2 separate regions of the Homo sapiens genome follow, and region 1 is linked to region 2. The links are contacts of gene promoters, found by promoter capture Hi-C in blood cells and fetal thymus (Javierre and others, 2016). All regions are on one chromosome and are shown on one strand. Each heading gives the region's core, a stretch centred on a gene start or on the middle of the fragment in contact. The rest is flanking DNA. Distances are from core to core; before and after follow the strand shown. Region 1 has its middle 87 kb from the start of RAB27B. Region 2 holds the start of CCDC68 (coiled-coil domain containing 68).

Evidence for each region. Contacts are between HindIII fragments. The CHiCAGO score rates a contact against its expected background, and 5 or more counts as called.
Region 1: a contact is called between a fragment that was not itself captured here and the fragment with the promoter of CCDC68 in region 2, in 1 of 17 cell types (erythroblasts). The highest score is 5.1, in erythroblasts.

What each region holds. Positions count from the first base shown.
Region 1 is chr18:54,739,138-54,743,756 of GRCh38, forward strand. It overlaps a transcript of RAB27B not described here. Among named protein-coding and RNA genes, the nearest start is that of RAB27B, 87 kb to the right of the region's middle. The HindIII fragment of the contact is 286 bases long and covers 2,669-2,954 here.
Region 2 is chr18:54,957,794-54,962,436 of GRCh38, forward strand. CCDC68 (coiled-coil domain containing 68) reads right to left here and starts at 1,668. Exons shown (of 12, transcript NM_025214.3): 1 at 1,543-1,668. The HindIII fragment of the contact is 7,607 bases long and covers 1-4,643 here.

The sequences.
Region 1 (4,619 bases), core at 1,562-4,061, 220 kb before region 2:
CAATAGTATTCCACCATATAGAAATACTACCTTTTGGCCAGGTGTGGTGGCTCATGCCTGTAATCCCAGCACTTTGGGAGGCTGAAGCGGGTGGATCACCTGAGGTCAGGAGTTTCAGACCAGCCTGGCCAACATGGTGAAACCCCATCCCTACTAAAAATACAAAAAGTTAGCCAGGCGTGGTGGTGGGTGCCTGTAATCCCATCTACTTGGGATGCTGAGGCATAAGAATTGCTTGAACCTGGTAGGCGGAGGTTACAGTGAGCTGAGATCCTGCCATTGCACTCCAGCCTGGGCAACAAGAGCGAAACTCCATCTCAAAAAAAAAAAAAAAAAGAAAGAAAGAAATACTACCTTTTTAAAATCCATTCTCCTGTTGATGTACCCTTAAATTCTTTCTTTCTTTTTTTCTTTCTTTTTTTTTTTTGCTGCTATGAATAAAGTTGCTATGACCTTTGATCTTCAAATCTTTGTGTGGCACATTTTTATTTCTCTTGGTGAATACCTAAGAGTGGAATGGCTGAGCCACATGCTAAGTGTACATTTAGCTTTGTAAGAAGCTGCCAAATTTTATTCCAAAGTGATTGTTGCATTTTACTTTCTCCAGTACAAATAGTTTCTCCACATTCCCATCAGCATTTCGTATTCTTAATATTTTTAAGTTTAACCCTTCTAGTGGGTATGTAGTGGTATCTCACTGTGATTAATTTGCATTTCTTCGAAGTCCTAATGGTATTGAGCTTCTTTATGTGAGCTTATTAGACATTCATATATTTTCTTTTGAGAAATGTCTACTCAAATCATTTGCCCATGTAGATGTGTAAGAGTTATCTATATATTCTGGATACAAATTGTTTGTAAGATATATGTATTGCAAATATGTTCTTCTCTCATTCTGCAGCTTGCCTCTTTATTTTCATAACAGCTTAATTTGATATAGTCCCACTTACCTATTATTGTCTTTTATGGTTTGTTCATGGTCTGGTAACAAGTTCATGGAGGAAGAATTCATCTCATGGCTACAATTATTAAAATTCAGTTACTTGATTGATTCTGGATAAGGCAGTAATGTTAAGGATCTTCCTATAAGAATGATTATTTCTTATAGTTTCTATTAGCTCATCCCCAGATAATGAAACAATTCTCAGACATTGTCCTCCTAACCCCTTAGATGTCTAAATAGAAAGAGTTATAGAGCCTCAGGGATATGAAGGAAATGATGAGTCATTCTTGCAATCCTTACGTTGAATAAACATTTTAGTATTCAGACCATTTTTTCCAACACAAATTTCCAGAACCTATTTTTATTAAAGAGAGCAATCTAACGTAACTCATCTGGATATTAGAACAAGAAAGGAAATGAGGACCTTCTTTCCAATGTTTTATTTATAGGATACCTGCCTGAGTTTCCACAGCTTGACAGTGGAATGTCTCCAGTCAACATGTCACTTTCTCTCAAGTAGAATCATGACCTAGGAGTGGCTAAAGTGGTCCTGTTGGCACAGTGAGAGCTTTCTAATTAGTTAGATCTAGGTATACATGCTGGATCAGCAACTTTGGCAAGTCTCTTAAAAGTTCTGAGCCACAGCTTCCTTCATTTGTAAAATGTAAAGCTTGGGATATATAAGCCAGTATATAGCAGGCTCTCACTAAGTGATAGATAGACATAGACAGATGATAGATAGATAGATAGATGATAGATCGATAGATAGATAATATAAAGAATGAAATGAGGAGATTTTACTGCTAGTGCATTTTTATTAACAGAAGAAAGGAGGCTGAGAAATTGATGAAAACATATGACAAGACTAAAACTTGGTCTTTATTTTCAATAAACTCTACCTAGGTTTTTGGTCATGATGATAATCTAATAACCTACTTTCATAAAAAGCATTTATTCCGGAAGTCATGGATACTAAATAGTGTCCCTAGCATACAAAACCTAAGAGGCAAGTGGTATCACAATAATTTTCAAAGATAAGGTAAAATACAGTTAAATGTTACTAAGACCATATCTTCCTATGAGACCCTTTAAATTTTGAATTAGTAAATCAAAACTTGAAAAATACAAAAGGACAACATTAGAACACTCACCTACATTCCTCCGCCCATCCCACCATGTCACCCACAGCCCTGTTCCTTAAAGCTAAAGAGGTTTATCACCTATTCAGTGTTTCCATTTGCCAATACAGTCAAAGATGAATGTATATTATTTCCTCCCTTTTGTCACAAAAAAGTTAGTATACTAAGTTCACTGTTGTGCATCTGGCTTTTAAGAAATATAGTGGCCATGAGAAGCTACTAAGAATCATTCCAATCTTATGTACTGTGCTGCTGAACCAAGAACTCTAAGCTCTTTTTTTCTTCTTTTTTTGAGACAGGGCCTCGCTGTGTTGCACAGGTTGGAGTGCAGTGGTACAATCTCAGCTCACTACAACCTCTGACTCTTGGGCTCAAGCCATCCTCCCACCCCAGCCTCCCAAGTGGCTGGGATTACAGGCATGCACCACCATGCCCAGCTAATTTTTTGTTTGTTTGTATTTTTTGTAGAGAGAGGGTCTCACCATGTTGCCCAAGCTGGTCTTGAACTCTGGGCTCAAGCAGTCCACCCACCTCCATCTCCCAAAGTGCTGAGATTACAGGGGTGAACCACTGTACCTGGCCTCTAAGCTTTCTTTAAGTAAAAAGTGACCTACCTCCTGGCAATGGCTTAGTTCTCCTTTTGCCTAAGCTGGCAGTAGGTAAGAAGTCAAGGCCTCTATAATATCTGAAGACATAGTCTAGAGTTAAATACTTGCAAAAACAAGCTCTGAGGATTCTGACATTCTACCTTCTGGCAAAATCAGTCTTAAGGGGTTTGTTTTGGCCTGAAGGCTTGTGCTACAAATAAAAGTATATTTCAGTGTAAAAGTTAATGCAGCTTTTCATAGAGGAGTGAATGTTTTCATATGCAAAGCTTGAAAGGGAAAGAGAATCTAAAGCAGTCTTATTTTTCTGATTAGGACAAATGACCAGGAGAAAGCCTTTAAGGCAATTGTTTGCAAAATGACTTAATTATCACCCTGGAGGAAACTGTAAGCCTCTTGTAACACTGTCCTTCAGGAAACTTACAGGAGAGACCTTTCTGGCAGTCGTAATGGTGGGTGGAATACAGTGTTGAAGTCATTATCGTACATGCGGTTTATTTGATGATTAAATTGCCTGGAAGCAGTTTCATCTTTCTGAGTTTATAAGCATCCTAGCTTGTTTTTCAAAAACCTAAAAGTACATGTACATGATGTTACTTAAATCTATCAGAACGGAAGGCAGGAGGAAGTTGGGGTCAGTCATACAAATGTTATAAAGTATAAGGTCATTTAAATCATTTGTAATTTATTTACTAAGAATACATTTGCTATGTCTGCAATAGATTGGCCTTCATTTCTGTGTTTTGCCTCTGCTAATAATCAAGTTTATTTGCATTTTCTGAGTATAAAGCAAGTAATTATGAGAACAAGTGCCCTGAAGACAGCTGAGTGGTAGGTGTAAGGCAGTCTGGCTTCCAGATTTTCTATGTTTCTAGACTGTGAGACAGAAAACAGCAAATCCCTGGAGTCTAACCACAAGGAGGATGCTGCCCACTTGCATATGAAGACCAAAAGCTTCCAGTTGCATAACACTGTGCTTTCCTCTGTGGATGTTGGCCATATCCCAGGACCTTGATAATAGGGCTCATGACTCCTAAAGTGTGCAGGAAAGCCTTGCAAATTTTGCATCTATGTCAACTCACCCTGTGAGGTCAGCTTTTGGCAGGATGACCAGACCATGTACTACTTTTGGAAGCCTGCAGAAGTTGCTGGCAATCCTCAGAAGTGTGTCTTCCAATTTGGAACAAGATTTTCAAGCCTAGATAGAAACAGAGAAGATCACTTTTCTTCCTGGTCCTGTATAACATAATCTCAAGCATTCTTGGACACCCACTCTTATTGCCTAAGCCAATGATTTTGTATCTGGTCCTTAATTCCACACTACTCTGCAGCATCTCATTCAGCTATTGTGCTATTTAGCTTTTACATACTGTAGTTTTCAACATTTTGTGTCACTGTAATTTTCAGCATTTTATGTCACTATATTAACATAACTGAATTAGAAGCTCTTTTTGTGGTGGTATTCTATTATTCATTCAGCCCATATTGATTGAGTTCCTACTATGAATCAGATCCTCTTCTAGGGGCTGATAATAGAGTTCCTGTTATCTTGGAGCTCCAGACAGTACAATGCAAATATGGAAATGCAGCTATAATATGTCAGATGTGAATAATTAATGAAGATCAAGGGCCGAGAGAGTAGGAGCTGATTTCCATTGAATCATGAGTGAGGAAAACTCAGTCCATGTGGAACTTAGGCAGAGTCCTGAGATCAGTGAGGGAATGAGCCATTCAGACAATAAATGCGGGAAAAAGCACCTAAGGCAGAGGGAATGATGACTGGTGGATGCCTGGTCCTTGCATAGCAGTGTGTTTGTCACATTCCAGGAAGAGCAAGAAGGTAAATATGGCTAGAATAAAGAGGGAGAGAGGAGAGTAATAGGAGGTGAGATCAGATACACAACAAAGAGCCAGAGTGGACAGAGCGAATCA
Region 2 (4,643 bases), core at 418-2,917:
AAATATCTCAGTTCTAAAGATGAGAAACTACTATTTTAAAAGACTTTTACATTCCCATCAAAATCTTCAGTTATTTCCCCTTTCAGTCATTATTCCAAGCAAATAAACACCTCATTTTTCAGGTTTGTCTAAATCTAGCTTACATTTTTTAGCTTTGGCCAAAATTTGGATTACAACTCACCTTCAATGTTGAGCATACTGTAAACAAATAAGCTAACAAATAACATGCCTATCAGTAATTCACAAAATAGCAACAGTATTAATTTCAAAAGTCTCTTTCTAGTTAGGACAAGGGATCAATTTATTTTGTAAATAACAAGAGGAAAGAACCTTCTTATGACGTCGGCCTTATGACGTTGGCCTGGGTCCCAAGAAGTGTAGTTGTTTTCATTCTTTCTGCAAACATTTGAGGAACCACACGGGGATACTCCCTGCCTTGGGCAGAAATTCCTCTGTGTCAGGGGCCTTCCCTCTCAAATTGGGAGTGGGGTGGGGAAGAGAGTGGGCAGCGGGGGAAAAGCATAACAACAGCACCAATTGTGTCTGCCAGGGTACCTGACACTCCTGCCCAGCTCACATATCAGGAAAACCAGACTTCAGTAGCTCTGAATATTTAATGGCATTAGGTAAAATCAAAAGAACAGATTATCTCCTCCCTATCACAAACACAGAATAATTCCTTTTTGTATTCTGACACTTCATCCGAACTATATACACCAAGAAAGTAAAAGAGGTTTTGATTCCTAAAATAAAACAATCAGAATATAATGGGGAGCAGGTACACCTTCAGTTATGTTCAGGGCTTGTTGCTTGTTCTGATCCTTATATTCAATTTTGTCTTCACTTCCAAAAAGGCTGAAAATTCACAGCTATGTTATCATCCAATCTAAAAACTACACTTGCACGGTCCCGTACTAACCTTCAGTAAGATAAGAGTGTTCCTTTGTCTAGCCGCCTAGCACTCTGTAACTTCCACATCTAAAATATCATGATGCTACTCAACATTAAGGAAAAGGTCAAGCAATGGGCTGCTCTTTTTACTACACCTGCGGCTGCAGAAGCCCGCACAAATGAATGAAGACAGCCACCTTCATTCATCTCTGCTCTTTAAAAAATGCGAGCGCAGTGACCTGTCAAAGCCACCACGCTGGAGTTCCTAGGTCAGGGCGTTTACCGCAGGACTTTTCTCCATAGCCTCTGAAATTAGCAGGCAGAAATCGCGGGGACCCCTGACAAACGGATTGTATAACAACAACCTAAATAAATAATCAGGTGTGCGCCGGACTAAGTAGGGGTTCCTCTCTGCGGAAAAGCAGCTCTTCCCAATGGGGAAGAAACTTCTCGCCCAGGAAATTCGAGCCCAGAACCGAGGTTTCCAGGGAGGATTACCTCTTCAACAAGGACCCTTTTACAGGAAATGTCCTTGATGCCAGGAACTCCACTGGGGAAGCCGCTGGAAAGGCACCTGGACACCCACACACATGGAGGGGATGCGGGGGCGCGCCGCAGGGACCGGGCCCGAAGGTGGCCAGACTCGCCTACCTTGTGGGGCGCCCAGCCGACGCGGGGTCCCGGTGCTGCTCCTCCCCTGGGCGATCGGACCTTGGGGCCAGGGTCGGCTGCCAGGGCCCTGCGAGTGCAGCCGCCACCGCCCGCAGGCTTGGCTCCGCCCCGCGGGGCGCGCCCAGGGCAGAGTCCGGCGCCGGTGAGGCCCCGGGGAGGAGTCGCGGCAGGACGCGTACGCCCAGCGCTGGAGAGCCAGGCTCTGCCCCTCACGCCCCTCGCTAGGGTGCTGTACAGGCGGGTGGGGGGAGGGGATCGGCCGCTGCTTTTCAAGAAGGTTCTATTTGCACCCTAAGTTTATAAACTTTTGTTTTTGTTTTTTAAATAATTTTTGATTTTATTGTTTTTAGTATAAATTTATGGAGTACAAGTGCAATTTTGTTGTTTTTTTAAAAAACTTTCTTTTGGAACTTAAAAAAAGTTGCAAAGATAGTAGAGAGAGTCGTCTATATACCCCTCAGTCGGTGTCTCCTAATGCCTACAGCTTCCATAACTGTGGCACATTTGTCAAAACTAAGAAATTCACATTGGGCCAGGTGCGGTGGCTCACGCCTTGGTAATCTCAGCATTTTGAGAGGCCAAGGCAGGCGGGAGGATCGCTTGAGCTCAGGAGTTCGAGACCAGCCTGGGCAACATAGCGAGACCTCATTTCTACTAAAAATATTTTTTAAAAGACATTAACATTGATCTGCCACTATTAACACTACTCCAGACTTGATGTAGCTGTCACTAGCTTTTTGGCTAACGCCTTTCCCTTTCAGGATCCCAGCCAGGATACCACACTGCATTTAGCATCCTGTGCCCTTTGTCTCCTCTAATCCATGACAGTTTCTCTGTCTTTTCTTGACTTTGACAGCTGTAAAGAATTCTAGTAAAGTATTGTGATGAAGTATTCTGGTAAGGTATAGTTTTGTGGGGGTACCTCGACACCCACTCATGTGGGTATTGTCTACTGTTTTTTTCTCATGATGAGACTGGGGGGAGGAAAGACTCAGAGATGAAGTGCCTTCCCCACTGCATCCTCTCAGGGACGATGGCACGATGGCCAGGTGACTTATCACTGGTGACTTGACCTTGATCCCATAGTTAAGGTTGTGTCTGCCAGGTTTCTCTACTGCAAAGCTGTTTTTCTCTTTCCATACACTCTACTCTGAATGGCATGAATGGCATGACTCAATTCAGCTGACACTCAAGATGAGGGCAAGATTAAACTCCATCCCAGAGCAGGGAGTATCTATATGTTATTATTTAGAATGATTCTGTAAGGAAGATTTGTTCCATCTCTCTTGTTTATTCAATCATTTATGTCAGTATTTGTTATGTCAGTATGGACCCATGTATATTTATTTTATACTTTGGGCTAGAATTCAATACTACATTATTAATTTTGTTGCTCAAATGGTTCCAGCTTTGACCACTGGGAACTCTTTCAGGTTGGCTCCTGTGTCTCTCTGAAAGTTCATAAACTTTTAGGATTGTGGGGAAAAAAAAAAGGTGTATTTCCTCCGCCCCCCCTCAACATCTAACAGATTGAGAAAACTGCAACCCAAATCCTTCAATATCCAAGGGCTTTTCAGAATCTTCCTGGGAATCCTATGATTACTGATTCCCACCACAGTTAGAGAGGAATGTTATTTTTTTTTTTTCCTAGCAGATTAACTTGTAGATTGTGACCCAATTGGAGAAGTGAAAGTTGATGGTTCTTAGGTAATTTTTTTGTTAACTAATCCTTGTGGTTCTAGTAAATAGATGTATGTATGTTTACAGACAAATCGTGTTCCAAAGATAGCCATGGATGTTTATTACAAGTTTCAGCATTGAAGAAACCCAGCTGTTGAGGATCATTTGTTACATTGCTTTGGTTTGCTCATGTTTGCATTTGCAAGTTGGTTCCATAAACACCACATTTCCTCCTTCTGAGCTTGGCTTTTGCTCAGCATTTGACACTGCCTGCTTTCTGAGACCTGTCCACCTCTCTTCCTGGCCTTGACCCTTCCTGGAGAAGGAAATCTACTTCTCCATTAGCTTGGGTTGAGCTGGGTAAACACAGGATGCGGTGAAGTACCAGTGAGTACTCCAGAACTGCAGAGCTAACTCATTTTCTATCTTTCAACTATTTTTAACAAAGTTAGAAAAGTAAGAGTTAAAGGAAAACATTTCATACCTAAGACTCACCATATCTGCTATGGACTGAATGATTTGTGTTCCCCCCTAAAAGTTTATATAATGAAATCCTAATCCCCAACGTGGTGGTGAAAGTGGGGTCTTCGGGAAGTAATTAGGTCATGAAGGTAGAGCCCTCATGAGTGGGTTTTAGTGCCCTTCTAAGAAGAGACAAAAGGCTGGGAATAGTGACTCATGCCTATAGTTCCATCTCTTTGGGAGGCCAAGGCAGGTGAATCGCTTGAGCCCAGGAGTTTGAAACCAGCCTGGGCAATATGGCAAAACCTCATCTCTACAAAATATACAAAAATTAGCTGAGCATGGTGGTGCACTCCTGTAGTCCCAGCTACTCAGGAGGCTGAGGCGAAAGGATCACTTCAGCCTGGGAGGTAGAGGCTGTAGTGAGCTGACAGTGTACCACTGCCCTCCAGCCTGGGTAACAGAGTGAGACTCTGTCTCAAATAAAGAGAGGGAGAGAGAGAGAAGAGATATCTGTCATGTGATAACACAGCAAGAAAGCAGCCATCTGCAAACCAGGAAGCAGGCCTCCACAGACACCACATCTCTGGGTGCCTTGATCTTGGACTGCCCAACCTCCAGAACTGTGAGAAATAAATAACTGTGGTTGAAGCCAGTTAATACCAGTCTATGTTATTTTGTTATAGCCCCTGGAACTAAGACAATATCCCAGAAGAAAGCGACAAGGTCAGAGATGAAGCTGAGATTCTTGTGTACGTTTCTGGGCGGGAGAGGAGAGACTTTAAGTGAAAGTGGTCATTCTAATTAGAATGAAATCATAGTTTTATTTCATAGTTCTGCAAATAGACTATTTTCTCAGTAACTTTAATAAAACTTTTGTGGAGGGGAGCAGAGTAAACTCAGGATTCATGAGAGTGTGGAGTTACAATATATTAGCA